Linked DNA regions of Homo sapiens: region 1 is linked to region 2. Evidence: promoter capture Hi-C in human tissues and cell types (Jung and others, 2019). All regions are on one chromosome and are shown on one strand. Each heading gives the region's core, a stretch centred on a gene start or on the middle of the fragment in contact. The rest is flanking DNA. Distances are from core to core; before and after follow the strand shown.

Region 1 (5,871 bases), core at 2,505-5,004, 280 kb after region 2:
TTTGTTTGTTTGTTTGTATTTGGGACGGAGTCTTGCTCTGTCACCCAGGCTGGAGTGCAGTGGTGTGATCTCGGCTCACTGCAGCCTCCGCCTCCCGGGTTCAAGCGATTCTCCTGCCTCAGCCTCCCAAGTAGCTGGGACTACAGGCACCCGCAACCACGCCCGACTAATTGTTGTATTTTTAGTAAAGACGGGGTTTCACCATGTTGGCCAGGCTAGTCTCAAACTCCTGACCTCAGGTGATCCACTCGCCTCAGCCTCCTGAAGTGCTAGGATTACAGGCATGAGCCACCATGCCCAGCCTCATGCATTAGTGTTTTATGAGAAAGACATTTTATTTCTTTACCTAAAAGGATTTTTTTTAATACTAACATTGCTGTTGTCAAAATATCTTCAGAAGGACACATGACAGACTCATAATGTTGGTTGCCTATGGCAGAGGGTGACCAACCATCCCAGTCTGCTGGGGTTTCAGGAGTCTCCTGGGATGAGGACATTTCAGAGCTAAAACAGAAAGTCCTAGACAAAGCAGGACCAGTTGGTCACCCTACCTAGGCAGGGGAACTCTGGATGGCTGGAACAGGGGCAGGAAAGGGAATAGTAACTGTATCCCTTCATGCATTTGGAATGTTGAACTATGTAAACTTATTGCTGGTTAAAAAAAAATAGGTTAAAAATGTTCTGTCAGTATCATATGAGAGGACTCTTTTTAAATCAGTAGATCACTAAGCGTAGCAAAGAAAAGGTTACTGGACCTATGCAAAATTTATATCAATACATTTAAGGTCTGCTTTATTATTTCATTTGTTTCTGAAATATGTCCTCCAAAAGACTTCACAATTATTCACCAAAAAAACTCAAAAATTTGCAGTTCTTTAATCCTCATTCTCACAACACCAGGCCACTGAGGCTCACACTGTTGTTCCATTTTGAAGATTAGGAAATGGAGACCTAATGAGGTTATCTGACTTGCCCCAGGGTTGGAAATGAGCGTGCCATGCAGCCCGTGTCCCCAGGGCCGCCCTCTCCCGTGCTGGCCTACTTTACAGCTGGCTAGTATCGTCAAACCATGGAAACAGCGAGCTGTTGCCAAAGAGAAATATTTCTATGAAAGTTTCTGAAGTGTCCCCTAGGAGAGCCTGCAGACGTCAGTGACGACATAATATTGCTGACAGAGCCCTCCCCACCAATCGTGCTGCTCAGAGAGTGCCACCCATGGAGCAACTTTTTAGGAGATTCCCACAGGATGGAAAGTCCTGAGGTGCATACGTGGAGGGACCCCACCTTTGAGCTCAGGTGGACCATCTGTCCACAGTTCCTTTCACAGTGCAGTACTTTTCCCATACACATCAAAGTTGCTTTGGATCGAGAGGCGAAGACCAGCAGGGCAGAGCTAAGCAGGCCACAGACATCTTTCCCCAGAAAAGCTGAGGGTGAGAGGCAGGGCGGTTCACCCTCCGGATGGCTGTTTGTAAAGTAAATATTGATTTTGAGCCATCCCCCAACCTGCTCAGGAAAACACACCAGCTGTTGCTTCTGCCTGCAGCTCCAAGTGGCAGTCACTCCCATGTCCAGAAACATCCTCTCCATACCTGTCCCCACTGCAATTCCCACAGCTGGCATCGTCAGCCTCTCCGTGACAGTGGAGTTAGACCTCACGTTTGCAGGAATTTGTGTTTTAATTCCCAGGCAGAGCTCGGGCCTCTGAGGGTTAGGGACACAGAAAAGGTCAGTTTGGGGATGGCCCCGGGTGGATGGCTGTTTCTCCTGTTCCCCACAGTGTGGAGCCCAAACCTTCACCCCTGTGTTGATGCATCCTAGACCCACTTTGGACATTTCCACCTCACAAGTAACGTTGGCAGCCACTTCCCGAGAGGCGCTGCTCTGCGTTCCTGACCATTTTTTTCTCACTCCTCTCCAGCCTCAGGGATACACCCTCCTGTTTGAGACCAGCCCCCACACGTTGGCCCTGAGTTCAACCCTCCTCCACCTCCTCTGAGGCTCTGCTTCACGCATTACCTCTGCTTCCTCCTGTATCTTCACCCTCCAGTAGATATTTCCCATTCTGGTTTCTCACTGAGAAAGAAAAGAAAAGAGAAACCAAGAGGGAGAGAGGGAGAGAGAAAGAGAGAGAGAGGGGAAGAGGAGAGGGGAAGGAAGGAAGGAAGGAAGGAAGGGAGGGAGGGAGGGAGGGAGGGAGGGGGAACGGGAGGGGGAATGGGAGGGAGGGAGGGGGAGCGGGAGGGGAGAGCCTACAACTTTGTGTGTCTCCCTTTTGCCCTCCCTGAACCTCTAAGTGGCATTTGATGATGCCAGGGCTTCCTGCCTTGGAGGTCTCCAGTTTTCTATCTTCCCTCTGACCTCTCTGTCCCCTCTCTCGGGAGCTGGCTCCTCTCCCTTTTAACTCAGTCCCCAGGGCTTCCTGCTGAGTTCTTTTCTCACTCTGGCCCCTCTCCCTGGGTTCTCAGGTACCCAGCATGTCCCACACAAGATTCTTCATCGTTCCCCAAAACCTGCCCTACCTCCAGAGCTCCTACGCTCTGCTGGCCACCACACTGCACTTGGCGGAGGCAGGAACCTAGGGGTCCCCCTACAATCCCCCCATTACTAAGTCCTTCCTCTTCTCTCCAGAAACAGTCCAAATCCAACCACGAGTAAGTTAGTGTAACTTGTTTGTTTATACGTCTCTCAAAACACACACACACACACACACACACGTAATGTCCATCAAATCAGGAGTTGTGTCTGTTTTGTTCATTGGCTATTTCTTCATCAACCAGAAATGTATCTGGCACACAGTAAGTGCTCAATAAATGTTGCTGGACTGAATGGATAAGTACCTACTGCCGTAGTTTATAGCAAGCAACAGGAGTTGAGTGCACGTATTTAAAGTCAGAAGGCAAGAGCTGGAATCTTGGCTTTGCCATTTACTCTCAGTGTAACTTGCACTAAATTAAACCTTAAGTCTCAATTTCCTCACCTGTAATATGGGCATAAAGATAGCAGCTCACTTATCATTAGGATTAAATGAGATAGCACATGTAGAGAACTTAGCATAATAACTGGTACGTATTAAGTCATCAATAAACATTACATATTATGTTTCTTATTGTTGTTCTTTCCTGTCCTCATGTGTCACCTGTATTATAACATCCTTCCAACCGTTCTCCAAGACTCCAGGCTCCTCTCTTCAGGAGAATTCCCACCCTAACATCGTAATCAGAGTGATCTGTCCAAATGCAAAATCAAGCATAATACTCCCTTGCTGAAAACCCTTATGGGGTTTAAACTCTGCCAGTAGAGTCCTAATTCCTTAGTATGGGCCCAGCTTCCCCACCCCCACCTCCCAGCACCCCAAACTCTAAATTCACTAAACTCCTAGCTTCATCTACCCTTACCTCCCAGCACCCCAAACTCTAAATTCACTAAACTCCTAGCTTCATCTACCCTTACCTCCCAGCACCCCAAACTCTAAATTCACTAAACTCCTAGCTTCATCTAACCCTTACCTCCCAGCACCCCAAACTCTTAACTTTACTAAACTCCTTCCATCCGAGCCTTTGCCTAAACTGCTCCCTGGTTCTTCCACCAGGAATGCTCTTCCTTAACCCTCTCCTCTCCATTTTTTGCTTAAAGAACTCCTCCTAATCATTCTACAAACAAGACATAAGCTCCTTTGTGAAGATTTTGCTAATCTCTTCTGCACAATCCCCCACCACCCCATACAAATTCACCCCTGCCCACACACATTCCTCTAGGACAGTTAAGGTGGACCAGCTGTCCCAGTCCAGGCAGGAATGAAGAAGTTGCCCAGAATGTGAGACTTTCAGTGCTAAAACTAGGAGAGTCCGGGGCAAACAAGGGCAACTCTAATAGCACAGATCACATTGTTTTGGAGTTAGCTGTCTTTCTGATAAGATTGGAGGCAGCAGAAAGCTTACTTTGATCATCTTCGTGTCCCCAACACCTATCCTGGTGTCAGGCACTTATATAGCCCATACTCAATAAATAGGTGCTGAACGCATTATTGAGGTAGTGTGGAGGCAGTGGAGGAACTAAAGGCCGTGGTTCGGATCCCATCCCCTCGCTGTATGACCTTAGGCAAGTTATTATTTTCATTTGTATATTTGTTTGTTACTGAATGATTGAAGGCAAATTTCTTGGTCTCGGCCTCTGTTTCCTCATTTGTAAAATGGACATAATACCAATTTCGTAAGAATGTTGTAAAGATTAAATGCATGTAGGGGCTGGGCGCGGTGGCTCACGCCTGTAATCCCAGCACTTTGGGAGGCCGAGGCGGGCAGATCACGAGGTCAGGAGATCGAGACCATCCTGGCTAACACGGTGAAACCCCGTCTCTACTAAAAATACAAAAAATTAGCCGGGCATGGTGGCGGGCGCCTGTAGTCCCAGCTACTCGAGAGGCTGAGGCAGGAGAATGGCGTGAACCCGGGAGGCGGAGCTTGCAGTGAGCCGAGATCGCGCCACCGCACTCCAGCCTGGACAACAGAGGGAGACTCCATCTCAAAAAAAAAAAAAAAAAGCATATGAAGTGCTTAACACAATGCCAGGCATATAACAAGCTTTCAATAAATGTTAGCTGCTATTTATATTCACTTTTTTTAAAGAGTTAGCACAGTGCATTCAATAAGGGTTTGTTCCCTTCTCCCCATTAAACAAATTAATACAGGTGGCCTTAAATGTAATTATACCACAGAGAAGGCTTCCCTTAGGACAGGGATCAGCCACCTTGGTTGCACATTAGAATCCCCTGGAGGACCTTACAAACACTGATGCTCAACTCCAGGCCAATTAATTCAAATCTTTGATGGATCCATGCATCAGCACGTTTAAAGGGCTCCCCTGAGGAGTCTAATAGGCAGCCAGTTGAGAACTTCTGCCTTAGGGCACTGGGTTGTGGCTCTTTACCTCTTAATTGCTGTACTGGGTCTTTCCAAAGTTATCCCTACTCTAGCTATTGTCAACCGCAAGTGTTTAATACCCTCTGTTCCCTTCACTTTGTCTTCAGGGCAGGAACTGGAGAATTCTCAGCTCCCTAACCATTCCTGGCCTGTCCCCAAGTTCCTAACAGCTTTTCACAGCTTGCCTATCCCTTCAGAGCCTTCACAGCTTGATATTCCCCCAGGAAGTTGAAGAAATGAAAAAGAGGTCACTTCATCTGTGTCTTCCTTAAGGGGACAGATGGTTCCATTTTCTAGCCAGTGTTTCTCAAACTGGAGTCCACAGACATGTTCTCAGGGACCCGCCAGTTCTGTATGAGGATTTTTTTTCTTTGCATTTTCAATTTGCTAATAATCTAAAAATATTACTATTGTCATTAACTGGTTGCCCCTTTATAAAAGACTGCAAGATTTGAGTGCCCCTACAAAATTCGGTATTTGAGGGGTTTTCATTTGTTTGCTTTGTGAGACAGGGCTCTCACTGTCACTCAGGCTGAAGTGCGGTGTTATGATCATAGCTCACTGCAGCCTCGAACTCCCAGACTCAAGCCATCCTCCCTCCTCAGCCTCCTGAGTAGCTAGAACTACAGGCGTGAGCCACCACACCTAGCTGATCTTTGAGTTGTGTAAAGGCAATGCACACATACAGATTTCGAATTAGTTCAGATAGAAGGACCAAGCAGGGAACCAAATCCTCCCATGGCACAAAGCAATTGAAGCAAAACAGACTCCAAATGACCAGCAAGTAGTTGTTAGTCTCAAATTAGCTGCAGAAACAGATGCAGTTTGTGCATCCTGTCAAAACGTAAGTGTTTGCAGCAGTTCATTAGCAGTGAGTAGTAAATATACATTTACTAAGATATTTTCTTCTCCCATTCCAAAAAAAATGGGAAGAGAAACCCCAGTTGAG
Region 2 (5,820 bases), core at 651-3,150:
CCCTATTCAGGTATCCCAACCATTCCCTTCAGAAAAACAAGGCAAAATGATGACAAAAACCACTCCACACCTCCTAAACCACCCTTCAAGCAAGACAAAGGGAAAGATTTTGGCATTTTGAAAACTTGAAATAAGGATGGTTAGACCCCGTGCCAGCCACACTGATGGGAAACTCTCCTTTGACGTCTCATCCCTGCCTCTAACAGACAGGGAGAGTGACGTCCAACATTGTTCTCCACATCAGAAAAACCTCACCCCAAGAAAAATACATGGTATTTTCGAAGTGCTTACTGTAAAAGGAGCAGGGTGCGCTGACTTCGCCAAGGAATGGGAAGGAAATGAAGCGCTGAGGTGGGAATTAGTACACGCTTCCTCTGGGGAAAAGACATCTGCTCCTGGCACTCCTCAAAGGAGGTGAGGCAGAGCTCTCCCTTGACGCTGTGCTGCTTCCCTAATCCATTCTCCAGGCTGGGTGATGGGACCTCTTCCTGCAGGGGAGAGCCTGCCCTGGCTCCCAGGGTCAACAAGGGCAGCAGCCCCCGGCTTGGAAGCCTCCCTCCTGCCCCTCCTTACACACGAAGGGGCAGAAGGGCTCTGGGCACAAGCAGTACTTTGGTAGAAAATCAGAAGGCCCTCTTACATCCCCGGGGGCGCCATGAAGGGACTTGGCTGCTGCCAGCCCCTCGCCAAACTCCTCTGAGTGGTCCAGGGGATAAGGCCGACACGCCCCTCCCATTCACTGGGGTGTGGTTTCCAGCACTTAGGACATTCCATGTAGCTTCTCCAACAGGACTCCTCCTCCCCACACTCAAACCCAAAGGACCCTTTCATAAACCAGATGATCATTTCTGGAAAGTTACATTTCTTAATTTCAGGAATTGTTCCAATTCGTGCAAAGAAAATAAAAGGTAATTATCTAATTCCAGTAAAACTTAATGGGGCCCTTCCCACCCCTGGCCAATGGTTGGTGTGAAATGTAATTTGACTTAAACTGTCTAAGGCTGTGAAAGTGTACAATATTCGGAAGGGTGGGGGGCATTACCCCTTGTGGGAGCCATATTTTTCTAGAAGGCATTTTGATCAAGACAGGCCTCCCGCGGTTATTGATCTTAGGGTCATTGAGAGTCCAAGAACTGGGGAGATGAAGGCCACCCGGCGTCAGCACCGCGAGGGCGGAGGGAAGGCGGGCGCTGAGTCTCCCATTGGGGTTCTAGCCGAGGGTTCCAGCCAGGACTGCGTGATCTGGGGGCAGCTCGGAGAGCTCTCCCGACCCAGTATCGGGTCTATAAATGGAGATAAAGATCAGCACCTGGAGGGAGTGGTTTCTCGAGGGCTGAGAGCCTCGCCCACAAACTGTAGTCAGCATCTTCACTGAAGTTGGCCTGTCTTGGATATTTCTTCTCTCCTCCCCTTCCCCCACCTCCCCTCCTAATTCATCAACTGCTGAAACATCTGCCTGGCTGAAACCGCCTTCTCGCCGCGCGCTGGGGGCTGTCCCCAGGTGTTGGTCTTTGTGTCGAGAAAACTTTGCGAGGAGGCGAGGGAGCTGGACAAAGAGCGGGCGAGGGAGGGCGTTTGCCAGCCTGAGGGGTGCGCCGGGCGGTGCGCGCACTTCCCTGGGCTCAGCTCCGTACCCGGTCGCTCGCGGTGGCCAGAGCCCAGTCTCTCTAGGCCAGGAGTGGCGTCCGGCTGCATCCCCGCGCCCTCGGGAGCTGAATAAAGCCAGGCGGGAGAAGCAAAGGCTAGCGCCTGGACGCTGGAGTTGGTGGGAGGAGGCGAGCAGAGGCGCGGAGCAAAGCTGTCAAACTGCGCGCGGAGCCGGGCGCGGGGCGGGGGAAGGGAGAGGAGGGAGGGAGGGGCAGGCGGGAGCCGGGAGGGAGCGAGCGGGCTCGCCGCGCCTGAGCAACCCCTGCCTGTCGCTGCCGCTGCCGCTGCCGCTGCCGCCGCCGGCCCGGACTCGTCCGGAGCGCAGGGTGTCTGCCCAGCTGCGCGCGGCGCGCGGAGGCTCCGGCGTCCGCCGCTGCGCCCTCCGGCCCCTGCTCCTCGCGCCGGCCCGCGTGGGTCCCGGCGGGCGCGAACCCACCATGCAGCTGCAGTTCCGGAGCTGGATGCTGGCCGCGCTCACGCTGCTCGTGGTCTTCCTCATCTTCGCAGACATCTCAGAGATCGAAGAAGAAATCGGGTAAATAGCTGCTCCCAGGCCCGTGCCACGAGCCCTGGCGGGATCTCTCCCTCCTTCTGTACTCTCCACCCTCCGACCCCCTTTGTGTGCGCCGCGCCCCGCTGTAGCTCCGCTGGAGAGATGGGGACGGTTTGGCAGAAGGTGGCGGCGACAGGGGCCCGGGACGGTTTGGGGAGAGGAGGGTGGGGGCGCGGCTGCTGTGGGGTGTCCCCGGGCGGGGTTCACGGGAAGCCCCCAGCTGGCCCGCGTCGGGAAGCGGACTCGCCCACCCTGCCCCCCTGCCTGGCGTGTCCAAGCGCAGTGTCGCCGGGGTCGAGGGAGGGCGCCGGGGAGTGTCTCGGGCGGGCGGAGGGGCCGAGAGTGGAGGGAGGCAGGAGTTTCTTTGTCTCCAGCACGGCCGCTTTCTCGCCTTGGCAAAGTGGGCAGGGGGCGCGCAGGGATCTCTGAGCTGGGGGAGGGGTTCCTGGGGCCGGAGCGGAGGGCGGGGTTCTGCATGGGCTACTGGGAAGCGGAATGTCCCCTGCACACACAGACAGGCACACGCGCCTCCCGCCGGCCCGGGAGCCCGGCGTAGGAGCTGGCACCACTAGAGAAGGGCTCGCATAGCTGGACTGAGACCCCCCGCCCTCGCCTGGCTTTGGACGTTCAGCCAAGCCACGGCAACCCCGGCGACCCTGGGTTCCTGTGCGCTCGCAGCGCGGAGACGGAGACATTTCGGGAAAGTCTGTACCGCCGCCCGGTGGGCTTCTGGGCCCTCAGGCGGGCGATCTGGCGCTTTTTTTCTCCCGACCTCGCCAGAGGTAGGGTGGGACCGCGAGCCCGGATCCTCCCGGCTCCGGACTTCCTGGAGTGCGCACTTGAGGCGCGGGACGCACCGGCTGTGTGTCCCAGGGGCTGAGACTCGCGCCCCGCCCCGCAGCCTTCGGCTCGCCGGGCCGGGCCCCTCTCCGGAACCTCCAAAGGGCGGTAGACGACAGGTGGGGAGGCAGCCGGGGTTCTGAGGAGGCCCGAGGAGAGCTTCCTGGCCCTGGGCAAGGGGAAGGTGAGGTCTCAAAGAGGGCAGAAGGTCTCTTCTTCTGTGGGATTTGTGCTCTGCCAGGCGCTCTTCTCGAGTCCCGCGCCGCGTGCGCCCCTCCTTTGTCCCATTTGTTACTTCATTTGTTATCTGTGCTAGTTGAGGGTCCGCCACACTGTCAGTCCCTCAAATGGGAGATGCCAGTCCTGGGCCCAGGCGGGATGCCGAGGCCCCAAGGACAAAAACTTGTGACAAGTGCCGCTTCCTGCTCTCATTTTCTCCCTGCCCCTGCCCATCTCCCTGGAATTCCTTCTGTGAACTCCGCTGGGCTTCCAGAACCCCTCTCCCTGCCTCTTTCTCCTCTCATTCTCGGTTTCCCCAAGAGCTCTGAAAACTTTCACAAATGCTGCGCAGTTAATACACAACGTGCCACCAATTCCCACGCAGAGATAAACATGCTACTTTTCATAGCTGCTCGCCTCAGAAACGTGGATTGGAAAGGAAATCGGGCAAGTCACGTCTTGGGGTAATGGAAGATGCGGTGAGGAGGGCCTTCCTCTAGGCTCTCCGGCTTCTGATTCCGGATGTGGGCACTGCCCGGCTCAGATCACTTGCTGACCTTTGCCCATGTGAGAGGGAAGGCCCGGCGCTGCCCATTGTCCTGTTATAAAAACATAAGTGCTGTGCTTATCCAGGCACCCCTAGGTCAGCCATTCACTGAATTCTTACCAAATACCTTCCACATGCTGGGAACTTTTAATTTTTAAAATGCAATCAGGAGATCACTTTGCACATAATGTTGCACTTTCTTGCCAAATGCACGGTGAAGCCTACGCTCCCCACATCAGGTTGTTCCCATATATGTACGCACCCCGGGGACTTGTCTCACTTGAGTGCTCCCTGCTTCTTTTTATCCTGTCTCTGCTGGGCCAATCCTAGGAAAAAACGGTCAAACAAGTACGATGTGTCACCTCCTGTGGCATCTTCCTTCCCTCTCTTGCCTCTCGTCCCAGGCTGACCACTGGCTTGACCAGTCCTGACCAGGCCTAAGACACCCTCTCTCCCAGGCTGATGTAGCTGCCTTAGGTCAACACTGCATATGCCTTTCGACTGGGATGGGCACTCTTGCCCCACCCACGGTCAGCCCCACACATGTTTAATCCAGAGGAATGGAGGCATATTTTGGGATTCACCATGGCTGGAGGAGTAAACACATGGGCAGAGCATGGGAATCCCAACAGCACCTTCTGTCTGCTTACAAGTGAGGGGTTTCTTTTTGTTTGTTTGTTTTTGTTTTTTTTTTTGTCTTTTCTTTTTTTCTTTTTCTTTTTTTTGAGACGGAGTCTCATTCTGTCGCCCAGGATGGAGTGCAGTGGCACAATCTCGGCTCACTGCAACCTCCGCCTCCCGGGTTCAAGCAATTCTCCTGTTTCAGCCTCCCGAGTAGCTGGGATTACAGGCACCTGCCACCACACCAGGCTAATTTTTGTATTTTTATTAGAGACGGGGTTTCACCATGTTGGCCAGGCTGGTCTCAATCACCTCAGGGGATCTGCCCACCTCAGCCTCCCAAAGTGCTGGGATTACAGGCGTGAGCCACCCCTCCCGGCACAAGTGAGGTTTTAACACTAAATTCATTCTTGGAATTACCCCAACTTTGGGCAGCTGGGCTCAGTGCCCAATAAGAGCCTTGGCACAGTGGCCAGTGAGGGGCGTCAAGAGGGCTCCGCCTTCCTCACCATATGCCTTCCTGGAGACCTCGAATCATACTCAGGCACAAGAGGCTTTTGCACCAGCCCTGCCCCTCCATCCCCAACTCACTCCGGACCTGTGCTAGGGAGGATTACAGATGATCTGCGCGTGTCGGCCCCTGGGAGAAAGCGATGGCTCTGTAAAAGGATGGCTGTTTCTGGAAAGTAATGAACAGTGGGACCCTGTGATCTGTTGGAAGGAAGGAAAGATAGAAGGAACCTCTTTTGGGGGTAACTTTTTCAAGGATTAAGGAATTTTAAAAAGTGAAAGAAGAAAGTGAATTACATGTGTATTATCTGGAGGGATAAAACTGAGATTTACTTTTCTGAAGCTTTTGATTCTCTTTTTTTTATAAAATGAGGCTTTTAATGTGGTGGTCTCAGAGGTCCTGTCCTGCCTGAAAAGTTATACATCATGAATTGAGGGGCAGGGCTTTCTTTGAGGGGAGTTTTCTGAGACACACATCTCTTTTCCTTAGTGATTATTTTCCAAAGTTCCATTTCTGACTCTCTTGCTCTCATTGAGCTGGAGCTGACTAAGAAAACAAAATGTAGAAAGATAAGTTCTCTGCAAAGCACCTAGAGAGTCCTGCCTGGTAGCCAAGGAGTGAATTCAAATTCTAAGTCAGAAATTGGGTGGGGCTTTGGTAAAATAGGCCCTGATCAATTCATGCACACTCCCAAGTTTTAGATCCAATTCGACCAAGTTGTAAGCTAAAATCTTCTGATTGTTTCTTGGCCTTTAATCTTGAGTGTAACTTCCACTAGGGGATTGTGAGGCGTAGCTGTCTTGCCCATCATGGTGTCCATGGAACTGGGCACACAAGGCATTCAATAAACATCTGTTGGATAAATATTTTCCTGAGTCTGGC

Evidence for each region. The method cuts DNA at HindIII sites, captures the fragments that hold promoters and counts their contacts. A contact is called where the count stands out against the background at its distance.
Region 1: a contact is called between a fragment that was not itself captured here and the fragment with the promoter of ST8SIA2 in region 2, in 2 of the 25 tissues and cell types used here (heart left ventricle and neural progenitor cells).

The regions. Positions count from the first base shown.
Region 1 is chr15:92,665,879-92,671,749 of GRCh38, forward strand. No RefSeq gene overlaps it. Among named protein-coding and RNA genes, the nearest start is that of FAM174B, 13 kb to the left of the region's middle. The HindIII fragment of the contact is 4,660 bases long and covers 1,425-5,871 here.
Region 2 is chr15:92,391,981-92,397,800 of GRCh38, forward strand. It overlaps ST8SIA2 (ST8 alpha-N-acetyl-neuraminide alpha-2,8-sialyltransferase 2), which reads left to right and starts at 1,901. Exons shown (of 6, transcript NM_006011.4): 1 at 1,901-2,182. The coding sequence starts at 2,085. The HindIII fragment of the contact is 17,571 bases long and covers 1-5,820 here.